Regions from separate parts of the Homo sapiens genome. Here all the other regions are linked to region 1. The links are contacts of gene promoters, found by promoter capture Hi-C in human tissues and cell types (Jung and others, 2019). All regions are on one chromosome and are shown on one strand. Each heading gives the region's core, a stretch centred on a gene start or on the middle of the fragment in contact. The rest is flanking DNA. Distances are from core to core; before and after follow the strand shown.

Region 1 (4,307 bases), core at 1,354-3,853:
AGGACAAATTCAGAGACCCTGAGCTTTAGAAAGACAAGTGGGTGGCTTTGATGGACGGTTTGGAGGAGGCAAGACTGGAGGTGGGAAAATTAGCAAGGAGGTCTGTGAAATAATCCAGGAGAACAATGATGAGGCCTGGATTGGATTCGGTAAAAAGAGGGGGTTGCTAGAAGGAAAAACAGGTGTGACCTGATCCTGCCCCTTCCTTCTTGCCTGTAGCTCCTGCTGGAGGAAGAGGATTCCAGCCTGTTGGCCCCTGTCTTCGACCCAGCCCAGCCCCCTCTGTTGCTCTGCATATTGGCCGTCTGGGGTCCATCTCCCTCCTGAGCTAGAAACCCAGAGATGGAGGCTGTCTTGCTATGGCAGGGAGGTGACAGCCTGCTGGCACTGTATATTTAGTGTCTTACTTAAGGATTTATGCATGGAATTTAATGTAGTACAAGCTTCGGGCTTTTTTGTTTGTTTGTTTGTTTGTTTGTTTAAGCTTTCAGGTGCTTCATTAGCTTTCAGTTCCTTTGGTAGTGTGGGCATTTCCTTGGCTGACAGTGGATATTCTTGTACCCTTCTTGGGTCCTGGGATCTCTTGAAATCCCCAATAAAGAGAGAGTTGTGCTATTTAAGCTGACCAGTATCTATAAACGTGTTTGCATGAGTTTACATCCCAGGATTCCATGATTCTGTAAATGCCTATGCATTCATGTCTGTCTCCATGCATGTGAAAACAGGAGAGTGTTTTCATTTTGTGTCTAGGTTTGTGTGAGTAAGCAAGAAATAAACCTTTGTTGTTGTAAGCCACTGAGATTTGGAGAGTGTTACCACAGCCTAACCTAGTCTATCCTGACTGACAGAAAGGACTTGTTCATTTCGCTTCTCAAAGTGAAAAATCTGTTATCCAATAGCTACCATAGATGAAAACAAACTTGGATTTTTTTCTTTGTCCAAATAAAAAAAAATGATGTAAAGAAATAATGGGGGATTCACTGATTAATTGCCCGCTCTGTGCCAGGCATAGACAGTTTCCAGCTGTCTAGAGGGGCTACAAATCGAAATGCCTACAGGGCTGAGCAGATCAAATAAATGAGTAAAGAAGGCCAGATGGACCCTGGCAAACTGAGAATGGATGCCTTGCCTAAGGAGCAGCCTCCTTTTGGCCCTAGCAGATTACTGCCAGGCGGGAATGTGGACTCAGTGTTGCTCCATCTTCTGATTTTTTAAGAGAAACTGGAAAACTAGATTTCCATGTAAAACATCTTAATTTTCAAATGTTGGCTCAGTTTTCTTCTTTAAATTCTATACGTGCCAAATAAAACATATTTTCAGGCTAGCTTTGGCCAGTGGAATACCAATTTGATACATTTTCCAGATGGGGAAATTGAGGCTAACCAGAATAGAAAGAATCGAGTTAGTCTTTATCACAAGTTTTTCCTCAACTAGGGAGGTTCACGTGTCTGAGTTTCGAAGGATCCATAAAAGGTTAAGAAACATTTATTACCATTTATTGAGTGCCCACTCCATTTGATTCACATATCTTCACAGCAACCCTGGAAGTTATGCAGGATGGTTCCCATTTTACAAGTGAAGAAACAAGCTTAAAGAGGTAAAGTAACTTGCCCAAGTGTTTTAGGGGAAATTTCTAGGCAGAGATCAGAGGAGGGTTCCTTCTCTTTGCCAGGCTCCAAATTAGTTAATAATGTTTATAAAGCATTGGGCCGGGTGTGATAGCTCACACCTGTAATCCCAGCACTTTGGGAGGCCAAGGCAGGAGGATCGCTTGAGCCCAGGAGTTTGAGACCAGCCTGAGTAACACGGGGAGACCCTGTCTCTATAAAAACAAATAAATAAAAGCATAGAATGAAAGATGCACCACTCCTTTCCCCAATCAGGACTCCAGAAGATACATACAAGTCAAGAGTTTTTCAAAAAAGTCTTTTATTTTTCTCCTCAAGATATCATTAAGAATAAGATCTTACCTGCATTTGTTTCTCAGTCCTCTGGTGTCAAGTCCTTCTCCTTGAACCATTCCGTACATAGGAAAACCTGTTGAGCTATTCCAAAGACATGAAGCCTGGAGACCCCCTTCCCATTCCCACCCTTAGAAGGGGCTCAAGGGATGTGCTTGATCACTGATTCTTTTTCCTGATGTTACCTACACCCCTTGTTTTACTCAAGATGATTGATGGTGATGACATCCAATTACAACTTGTTATTTCTTATTTGGGATTTTGAGAGGGTGGGTTTCTTCTCCTCCCTAGCAGAGTACAGAGTAACAAACCTGCAGCACTTCTCAGGAGATACTGAGATATCAGGAGACCAAAGTCGGCTTCACACCCTTCTTCCCTCCCCTTAGCTATAACTTAGATATATGATTGCTCCTTAATAGACCTGCCTAAGACTTGGTGTGCCATGCTTTCCTAGTGACAGATGACCAGGGCCACAAAGTCACAGAGAAAGGAAGCACTGCAACATGCAACATGGCTGAGATTCTGCTACTCAGCACTGACCAAGGGTCCTCTGTACACCAAGGTCACAGAGCTGAGAAGGGTAAAAGAGAAAGTATAATTTGGGGTTAAAGGATGGCATGAAAAGGGGAGGAAAAGAGGAAGTGATGGAGATTGGGGGAAGGAGTAGACTAGAGGCCACCTCTCCTTCACCTCTCCTCCAGTACCCGGCCTTCAGTACCCAGCCTGGGCAAGGCTTTTCACACCAGTTGGCCAGGCCAACTTTGTCTTTCAAATCGTTAGGGCCCCCCATTAGTGCCTGAGGGAAAGGGCCAGAGCTTCTGCAGATGTCAGTCTTAGGGAAAAGAGCAGATTTAAGAGTTGCTCATGCTCCTAAGTTGTTGCCTGTTCAGGTGCAGCACTCTTCACCTGTGGTTGTAGGGAGCCAGTAGGCTCCTGGCCTCTTCTTGGCTCTGAGAGATTACAGATAATAGACTGTGAGCACTGTTTCCTATACTGCCCCCTTTCCCACTTCCCAGTGCCAGGTAGGGAAAGGTATTGCCATGGTCCAATAAAGTACTGAGTAAATCATCTCCCTTCTAAACCTTCTTTGTGTACCCTCTTGGCACTCTGCAGACTTAACCAATGAGGTCCCAACTATGAAGCACCGTCCCTGTTCCTCTCTCTCCTCACAAGACTCCTCCCCACAGTCACCCAGGTTTTATTTCAGGAGCTTATTTCACATTCTGCCCTTTGGGAATCCATGCTCCTTTCGCTTCAGCCCTACATTAACTTGCTCCACTCCTGACCTCAATTCTCGTCCAACGTAGAACTGACATCATACACTTATCCCATCCAGCCTATACGCAGACCCTCATTGCTTCGTCCACATAGGCCTCATTCTGCACCCCTGTTCCATTGTGTAGCTGGCTTTGCAGCCCTGACACGTTTGCATAAATACAGTCCTATAACCCCTACCCTGCATGGGCCTTCACAAGATCCTGAACTCTTCACAAAACCAAAGTTCATCCTTTTCATCCAACTCAAAATAATATGTTAAGCCTCTCAGGCAGAGTTCCCTATGTTCCCAAGGGGCCACTGGTCTCTACTTCATAGTCCTGATCACCCTGAGCTGTGCCTATCTATGTCCATCTATGTCTCCCCCTCAGAGAATAAGCACTCTCAGAGCACAGGACTTGCCTGCAGCTCCTCCTTGGGAGCTCAGAATAAATGACTGAGTAAAATACGTTCTGTCTGATTCCTTAGGAATTGTTTTTTCCTACTGAGTTAACACACTCCAATGCTGCCCCTCTCCTCATCAAAATGTGAACTTTCTGACCTCAAACCATTTTTTCTAAGACAGCCTCTGTCACCCAAGCTGGAGTACAGTGGCACAGTCATGGCTCACGGCAGCCTCAACCTCCCAGGCTCAAGTGACCCTCCAGCCTCAGCCTCCTGAGTAGCTGGGACTACAGGCATACACCTCCATGTGAGACTAATTTTTATTTTTTGTAGAGACAGTGTCTCACTATGTTGCCCAGGCTGGTCTTGAATGTCTGAGCTCAACCGATCCTCCTGTCTCAGCCTCCCAAAGTGCTGGGATTAGAGTTGTTTTGTTTGTATGTGTGTATTTTTGTTTCTTATTATTTTGGGATTAGAGTTGTGAGCCACCGTACCCAGCAAAAAAACCTTCAGGGGCCAGATACAGTGGCTCACACCTCTGATCTCGGAACTTTGGGAGGCCAAGGTGGGAGGATTGCTTGAGCTCAGGAGTTCGGGACCAGCCTGGGCAACATGGCAAAACCCCCTTTCTGCAAAAAATACAAAATTTAGCCAGGCATGGTGGCGTGCACCTGTAGTCCCAGCTAC
Region 2 (4,307 bases), core at 401-2,900, 460 kb before region 1:
TTGCTAGCTTGTCACATGTCTCTGACTGCTCAAGTTGGAAGGCCTAGGGCTTGGTCCTGGGACCTCTTCTCTTTTCCATCTACACTCACTTCGTTCAGGCAATAGCCTGAAATACCATCTATATAGCCAGAGAGTTCCAAATTGCCTATGTCCAGCTTGGGTCTCTCTTCTGATTTCCAGACTTGTACAGATCTGGGCAGAAACCTTAGTTATGCCTGAATCTTTTTCCTCGCACTCAAACCAAACTATACGTAAGTTTTGTCCGTATTACTTTCAAACTACATCCAGAATCTCATCACCTCCACTACTCCTGCTCTGGCTGGAGCCACCATCACCTCCCTGTTTTCCCCCATACTCCCCACAATCAACACAGCAGCCAAATTTTGTTAAAATGTATTGGGGCTGGGCGTGGTGGCTCATACCTGTATGAGCACTTTGGGAGGAGGATTGCTTGAGCCCAGGAGTTCAAGACCAACCTGGGTGACATCGTGAGACGCTGTCTCAATTTTTTTTTTTTTTGAGACAGAGTCTTGCTTTGTCGCTCACGCTGGAGTACAATGGCACGATCTCGGCCCACTGCAACTTCTGCCTCCCAGGTTCAAGTGATTGTCCTGCCTCAGCCTCCCGAGTAGCTGGGATTACAGGCGCCCGCCACCATGCCTGGCTAGTTTTTGTATTTTTAGTAGAGACAGGGTTTCGCCATGTTGGCCAGGCTGGTCTCGAACTCCTGACCTCAGGTGAGCCACAGGTCTTGGCCTCCCAAAGTGTGGGGATTACAGGCGTGAGCCACCGCCCCCGGCCTCCCGTCTCAAACGTTAAAGAGAAATATTCTTGGAGTTAATCTACTTCTGAGAGTTATTTAGCTAGGAAAAGGGGATATTTGCTCTATAGGTAAGACTTGCCCTAATCTTTTTTTTTTTTTTTTTTTTGACTTGCCCTAATCTTAGGGATATTTACTTGTGTGGAGAGATGCAGTGAGGTAGCGGTGGGGATGTATTTCTCAACCCAGCGCAATGACATTATCTTCAATTTGAGGAGTATTTACGTGGGTGAAAGATCCGCCACAGTCCACAGTATGCAAATAGACAGGTTTGCTTCAGTCCGGGATGCAAGGACCTAGAGGGTGTGTGTGTGGGGGGTGGGGGTGGGAGGGTGGAGGAGGAATCGAGTTAAGGGGGATATTTACCCTGGCGAGGTGATTTTCCCTATTCTGAAATATCAATTCTTGGGCGGACAGTCTGCCCCTCCTCTCATTCTCAGAGATAGTTACAAAGATGGAACTATCTTCTCCTTTCTAGTCGTGAGGGAGAGATGTGTGTATCCCTGCGTATTTAGTAGTATTCAATCGGACAAGAAATCATGCATCAACGCAGGAGTGACATTTACCAGCTGGTATCGTGAGGAGGTGGGCACTCGGTTGCACAGTACACGGTAGTCCCTCTCCAAAAGAAAGACCTGGGTGAAGTTCTTACCTTGCAGGAAGGAAGCAGAGCCATCTGGCCGCGACAGCAGGTTCTGTTCGCAGGCAAAGTGCCGGAGGCTGCAGCCAGGACCCCGAGGGCTGGACCCTGTTCCATTTTCAGCACGGATTTTGGCGTCAGTATGCGTCTCCTCCTCCATCGCGCCGAGCCCACGTGCGGCTGCAGTTGTCACTTCCGCCTGGCAGCGCGCGCCGCAAACAGGCTGCGTAACCAGTGCGCACGCGCCGGGCTGGGCCATCCTCCTGGGCGTCCGCACGTGGCTTAGCGTTTACCAACAATCTGGCTCCGCCCAGTCCCACCTCCTAACTCTGGCAACGCCATTGGACATTTGGGAACAGAAGGCAGGCCTTGGCATTGATCCGCTTTACTCTGGGCCCCCGGGCCCTAAATCCCTGAGGCCCTGGTCAGGTTGCCCTCTTCTTTGCCTGTTACAGGAGTAACTACAATGAGGCGATTGGAGAAAATTTTGGGTAGATAGATTTTTTTTTCTCCAAATCTCTGTGCATTCTATCTACCACAGAACGGGAAGAAGATGGTTTTCTTGTCAGATGGTGCTGGAGTTTGCGTCAGGCACATAAAGAGGCAGCCCCGAATCTAGCCTACGTGAGTGCCGGACCGCTGAGTGGTTGTTAGCCAAGATGGCGGTAGCGATCGCTGCAGCGAGGGTCTGGCGGCTAAACCGTGGTTTGAGCCAGGCTGCCCTCCTGCTGCTGCGGCAGCCTGGGGCTCGGGGACTGGCTAGATCTGTGAGTACCTGGGCCCCAGGCGGTTTTCCCAAAGGGGATTAGGGATGTAAAGGCTATCTTCAGAGTGTGGGGTCCCTGAAGGATATGAAGGAAGGGCTGTCACAAAAGGGAAAAAGAGTGGGAGACTCCTTGGAGAAGACACCGAAGGGAAGATCTGCCACTTCCTTAGGAGACGAAAAGAACTTCCACTTCTTTAGGAGAGGAAAAAACCCGTTTGCAACTTCTTTGTGGGCCCTGAGGGAGACGACTTGAAGAGAGAGATGGGGGTTCCTTATTAGCTGCCACTGGTATTCAGGGGAGGCTCCTTGGAGGAACAGGGGAAGACCGCAAGACCTTCTCCCTCAGGGTTTGGAGAATGAAACTGACTTTGTAAGGGAGGGACTTTCTTCTGGGCAAAGATCCCTCTTCAAGAAGAAGAAAGAAGAGAACAGGTCCCTGTCACAGGCTGCATAGGGCCTTGTATTTCTTTGCTCCTTTGCCACAATTCTGATTTTAAAATGAATTGTGTAAAAAATTTGTTTGATTCCTGTGTCTCTTGATCGAATATCAAGACAGAGAATTCGTGTGTTCTGGACACTGTACAGAGGAGACGATTAATATTTGTTGAATTAATGAGGGGAAAAAAGGAGGGAGAGAGGTACAGACAGGGCACTTTGCCCACATTTCTTAGAAACACTTGAGAAGGCTTTGTTTCTTGTCAAAAGGGTCACAATCCCTTCAGGTGGATGCTGCTAAGGGCAAGATTACACTGCAAAAAACCTAGGTGGAAGCCTATCTTTAGACGGGGAGAGGCAATGGGTTGCAGAAGAGCTTTGAACTACAGTTGACAGATAGGAGAGTAGTGGTTACATGGGTGGATGCATGTCCTTGCTCTGCCGCTTTCCACTTGTGTAGCCTTGGCCAACGGACTGCACTTCTCTGGATCTATGGAGCTAATTTTCCTCTCTAAAATATTAACAGTGGCCACCTCATAGGGCTGTGAAAAATCAATATGTAAAATGCTAAGGACTGGACCTGGCACATCCTAAGGGCAATAGGAATGTTGATAGTGAGGGTGGAGGGAAGGGACAGAAACTAACCTTGGAGATGGGGAGAAGAAAGGGGTGACCTTGGGAAGGCCTGGATTGGTGAGGCCCTGGGGAAAAAAATCTGAAAAGATATTGTGAGGTTGAGTCTGATCCTCTGATCCCCAATCCATAAGGAGGGGAAGATGGAATCTGTAGAAAGAAGCTCTGGGTAGGGGAACAAACGGGAGGAGGGTGAAGAAGATGGGCCAGGAGTAGGACGTAGTAGGTATCTAGGAACGGAGTCACTTGAAACAGGTAAATACAGAAGGGCTGCAGGAGCAAGGTGTGGGTAGGGCAGTCTCTTGCCTTTGGGCTGGAGACCTTTTCACTTTTTTTTTTTTTTTTTTTTTTGAGCAGTTCATATCCTCCACAGCTGATCTCAGTCCCAGGGGCCCATTGGCTGGGCAAGTGGGGCAGGAGGTGGGCAGGACTGGGGCAGGCTAGGGAAAGGTCATTTATGGCTGATTAAATCTTTCTCTCCTGTCTCAATCTCTTGATTACCTTTCCTCTTGCTTCCCCTACTTCATTTTTGGTGGGGAGTGGGGAGGGAAGAAGTCCCTACTTTTTATTTATATATATTTAAATTTGTATTATCTTAAGAGTTATTGTTTTTTCCCCTTTATTTCTCCCACCTGTTCTTTCTCTCTTCTTCTTTCTTTCCTCTCCTTCTCCTCTCCTCTCCTCCCCTCTCCTTTTTCTTTTCTTTTCTTTTTCCCTTTCCTTTCCTTTCCTTTTCTCTTCTCTTTTCTCTCTCTCTTTCTTTCTGTACCTCTCTTTCCTTTTTCTTTTTTTTTCTTTTTTGAGACAGAGTTTCACTCTCTCGCCTAGGCTGGAGTGCAGCAGCATGATCTTGACTTACTGCAATCTCTGCCTGCCGAGTTCAAGCAATTCTCCTGCCTCAGCCTCCCTAGTAGCTGGGATTACAGGCATGCACTATCACGCCTGGCTAATTTTTGTATTTTTGGTAGGGACGAGGTTTCACCATGTTGTCCAGGCTGGTCTCGAACTTCTGG
Region 3 (4,307 bases), core at 1-2,500, 450 kb after region 1:
TCGGCTCATTGCAATCTCTGCTTCCCAGGTTCTGGCGATTCTCCTGCCTCAGCCTGCCAAGTAGCTGGGACTATAGGCATGTGCCACCATGCCCAGCTAATTTTTGTATTTTTAGTAGAGACAGGATTTCGCCATGTTGGCCAGGGTGGTCTCGAACTCCTGGCCTCAGGTCATCCGCCTGCCTTGGCCTCCCAAAGTGCTGGGATTACAGGCGTAAGCCACCACACCCTGCCTAGAGTCTCTCACTTTAAACCAAGCCCCAGGCTCTGTTGCTCATGCTGAGGTGGGCGGACTGCTTGAGCCCAGGAGTTCAAGACCAACCTGCGCAACAGGGCAAAACCCCATCTCTACAAAAATTACAAAAATTAGCCAGGTGCATGGTGATGTGCACCTGTAGTCCCAGCTACTCGGAGACTAAGGTGGGAGGATCACTTGAGCCCAGGAGGCAGAGGTTGCAGTGAACAGAGATCATACCACTGCACGCCAGCCTGGGTGACAGAGCAAGACCCTGTCTCAAAAACCAACCAACCAACCAACCAACCAACAAAACAAACCAAGCCCCATAGAAGCAAGACTCACTTCATGAAAATCCAGTCTGCTTGAGCCATGCATTGAATCAATGGCATTACAGTTGAAACTTATTTTGATGAAACCCATTACAGTTGGACATGCTTTGTGGAAAGATATTATTATGATTGAGTCCTCTTTGTGGAGTGCCATTAGAGTTGCCCTTCGCTTCCTGTAAAGTGACTATAGCTTTGTGTAAACCCAACAGGGCTGCGCACTACTTAAAGCAAACAAGAAAGAGCCTCACTTTAGGCAAGCCTATGGCAGGAAAGCCTCATTTTAGGTCTTAGTACATTATACACAAATCCAATCTGATAAAACCAAGGCATACATTTCTTTCTCAATAGAATGTTGCACCTTACACCAAGATTCTCAGAGCCTCGGGCTGCCTGAGGCCAATCTGGGTACTCTCATAATACCTCACCTGGCCTGGGTTCTGGTCCAGATGTGTCAGCATGGACACAGGGCTGGATGGGGCAGGGGGAGAGGGACTGCCCTCACCTCGCACTGGTGCATGAGCTGGACCAAGGAGTCCCCGATGAAGACGACTTCGGGTTCCTTATCTTTGCTGTCAGCCACGAACCGATGGTGCTGCGGGAGCGCGCGAGAGGGAGTCAATGGCATGCACGCTCCAGGGCCCGCCCCGCCCTGCTCCCTTAGGCAGCGCCTCCTCAACTGCCCTCAGTTTCCCAATCAGGTAGTGAGAGTGGCACGAACCAGCCGTTCTCCTGAGCCACCCCCCGCGCCCCCGGACTCCTCAATATCCCAGGTGGGAACGCTCACCAGGGACATCCAGCGCCCGTCGCCCTGTACGTCCTGCACCGGCGTGGGCTTGCTGGCTGGGTTCTCCTCTCCACTCATCTTGGCGCCGCAGCTCCTGCAGGATGAGCGAGTCGGGTCGGCCCGGGAGTGTTCCGAACGGAGCTGGCTCCGCCACGCCCACTCCTACCCCTCGCGGCAACAAAGGACCGTCCCAACGCTAGCACACCCGCGGAGGACGAAGGCCGATACAGGGCGCCGCCTCCTCTCCAGGGACGGAAGCCTTCACTTAGGAGGTAGGTGGAATCAGGAACCTTCGCTTCCCCCACGACGGCCGCACAGTGGGCTCGCCCGGCGCTTCCCGCTCGGGCCGCTGACTCCCAGGCCGCGCACCCGGCACGGGGTGGGGGGAGGGAGAGGCGAGACCATCCAGCTCCCGAGGCGGGGAGGAGGGAGAAACCACCCACCGGTCACGGGGAGGGGCGAACTACCTGAAGAGTCGAGAGTGGGCGGGGAAAATCTAGCCCTCTGTCTAGCAAATGGGAAGAAACCATTTGCTGTACAGAGTGAAATGTGCGGAAGGGACCACCTACTGTTGCGGGGGGGGGGGTGACCCATTCACGTGGTGGGGGGAGGGGAGCGAGTGGACGAGTCCATTCTTATATTCCCTTGAAGGGGTGGCTCGAATGCACCTGGCTGGGGGGGACGCTCCTATTTTCTACTGATGTGGGGGACAGAAAAGGAAGATGACAAAATGTGAAAATTCGAGGCTCCCTTCTAAGGAGCCACTCTAAGGCCGCGCCAGGGCTTTAGTGAGCCTATCTACTCGTGGGCTTCCCCTACTCAAAACACCGTGGGTGTGTGTGTGTGTGTGTGTGTGTGTGTGTGTGTGTGTGTGTTGAAATCTAAAGTACATATCTTTGCATTCAAGACATCACAGGACCCCTACTCAAAACACCGTGTGTGTGTGCGCGCGCGTGGCATAACATATAAACTACATATCTTTGCATTCAAGACACCATAGGACCTGCTTGGAGGGTAGAAGAAGGTGCAGAAAGAGAAAGGAAATTAGAGACGCCTCCAGGGCTCAGGTCCAGTCTGGCGTCCCTCCGGCAGATCATCTTGCAGATCTGCAGCCTCTACACTCTCTCTAAACCCACAGGCCAACTGGGTATGTCTGAGCTCTGAAACCTACATCCATAGCCAAGGCCACCTAGGGTCGCGCCTCTCCCCCAACGCTGCCCCAAATTAATCTCAGACCTCAGTGTCTTCTCAGATCTCCCTCTTCTCTGGGACCAGGTGGGGGGCTCACTCCCTGCTAAACGTCCTGGTCATGTTCTTGTAGCCTCACTCCAGGTGGGACCTTCCCATGTATTCATTCCTTCGAGGTGGATTGATACTGAGACAGAGATGAGTGTTATTCATTGTGTTTATGTTTTCAATCCACTTTCCTGGAACTGGGCCGGGCACACAGTGGTTATTCCACAAGTGCTTGCTGAATGAGTAGTAAATGAGTGGGTCAGCTCCTGACCTTGTCCCAATGTGTTTAGGGAGACAGATCCAGACACAGAGGTGTAGGGGTGTCAAAGTTGTGTTTGAGGGAGAGACAGGGACCTCTGGGGAGGAAGAGGAGAAGGACTCTGAGGACTATGGGTTTCCTAGGAGTAGTATCTCAGCTGGGTCTGAAAGATAATGAAGAATGGGCAAGCAGAAAGAAAAGACACAGGTAATCACTTTCTTATTAGGTTTGGGGAATATCGTGGAATAGCTTGATTTTAAAGTCTGAGGGAGGCCAGCATGGAGGCTCATGCCTGTAATCCCAGCACTTTGGGAGGCTGACATGGTCGGATCACTTGAGGTCAACCAGCCTGGCCAACATGGCGAAACCACGTGTCTACTAAATATACAAAAAAAAAAAAAAAATTAGCTAGGCATGGCAGCACACGCCCGTAGTCCCAGCTACTTGGGAAGGCTGAGGCAGGACAATTGCTTGAGTCTGGGAGGCAGAGGTTGCAGTGAGCTGAGATCGCGCCACTGCAGCCCAGCCTGGGCAACAGTGGCCCAGCTTGGGTGACACAGCGAGACTCTGTCTTAATTACAAAAATAAACAAACAAATAAAGTCTGAGGGAGCCAGGTGCAGTGATGCATGCCTGTAGTCCCAGCTACTGGGGAGGCTGAGGTGCGAGGATCGCTTGAACCCAGAAGTTTGAGACCAGCCTGGGTAACACAGTGAGACCCTGTCTAAAAAAAAAAAAAAAAAAAGGCTGGGCGCGGTGGCTCACGCCTGTAATCCCAGCACTTTGGGAGGCCGAGGTGGGCAGATCACGAGGTCAGGATCGAGACCATCCTGGCTAACACGGTGAAACCCCGTCTCTACTAAAAATACAAAAAATTAGCGGGGCGTGGTGGCAGGCGCCTGTTGTCCCAGCTACTTGGGAGGCTGAGGCAGGAGAATAGCGTGAACCTGGGAGGCAGAGCTTGCAGTGAGCCGAGATGGCACCAGTGCACTTCAGCCTGGGAGACAGAGCGAGACGCCGTCTCAAAAAAAAAAAAAAAAAAAAAAAGGGCAAGTGCCTGTAGTCCCAGTTAGTTGGGAGGCTGAGGCAGGAGGATAGCTTGAGCCTGGGAGATGAGGTGGCAGTGGCCCATGATGGTGTCACTGCACTCCAGGTTGGGTGACAGAGTGAGTCCCTGTCTCCAAAAAAGAAGTCATAATCAGCTAGGCACGGTGGCTCACTCCTATAATCCCAGCACTTTGGGAGGCTGAGGTGGGCAGATCACTTGGCGTCAGGAGTTCAAGACCAGTCTGACCAACATAGCAAAACCCCATCTCTATTAAAAAATACAAAGATTAGCTGGGCAAGGTGGTCTGCGCCTGTAGTCCCAGCTACCTGGGAGGCTGAGGCAGGAGAATCGCTTGAACCCGGGAGGTGGAGGTTGCAGTGAGTTCAGACTGTGCCACTGCACTCCAGCCTCAGTG

Evidence for each region. The method cuts DNA at HindIII sites, captures the fragments that hold promoters and counts their contacts. A contact is called where the count stands out against the background at its distance.
Region 2: a contact is called between the fragment with the promoter of EXOSC5 here and a fragment that was not itself captured in region 1, in 4 of the 25 tissues and cell types used here (adrenal gland, bladder, dorsolateral prefrontal cortex and 1 more).
Region 3: a contact is called between the fragment with the promoter of PRR19 here and a fragment that was not itself captured in region 1, in 1 of the 25 tissues and cell types used here (heart right ventricle).

Annotation. Positions count from the first base shown.
Region 1 is chr19:41,851,365-41,855,671 of GRCh38, forward strand. DMRTC2 (DMRT like family C2) reads left to right here. Exons shown (of 9, transcript NM_001040283.3): 9 at 220-969. The coding sequence ends at 332. Among named protein-coding and RNA genes, the nearest start is that of RPS19, 6.7 kb to the right of the region's middle. The HindIII fragment of the contact is 8,258 bases long and covers 1-4,307 here.
Region 2 is chr19:41,395,709-41,400,015 of GRCh38, forward strand. It overlaps EXOSC5 (exosome component 5), which reads right to left and starts at 1,651. Exons shown (of 6, transcript NM_020158.4): 1 at 1,473-1,651. The coding sequence starts at 1,620. BCKDHA (branched chain keto acid dehydrogenase E1 subunit alpha) reads left to right here and starts at 2,110. Exons shown (of 9, transcript NM_000709.4): 1 at 2,110-2,227. The coding sequence starts at 2,120. RefSeq lists a silencer at 1,574-1,862 and enhancers at 1,621-2,293, 1,859-2,138, 2,294-2,965. The HindIII fragment of the contact is 15,471 bases long and covers 1-4,307 here.
Region 3 is chr19:42,300,882-42,305,188 of GRCh38, forward strand. It overlaps PRR19 (proline rich 19), which reads left to right and starts at 1,251. Exons shown (of 3, transcript NM_199285.3): 1 at 1,251-1,622. PAFAH1B3 (platelet activating factor acetylhydrolase 1b catalytic subunit 3) reads right to left here and starts at 1,743. Exons shown (of 5, transcript NM_002573.4): 1 at 1,351-1,743; 2 at 1,069-1,158. The coding sequence starts at 1,428. RefSeq lists enhancers at 1,218-1,267, 1,348-1,477, 1,430-2,084 and a silencer at 1,638-1,857. The HindIII fragment of the contact is 37,239 bases long and covers 1-4,307 here.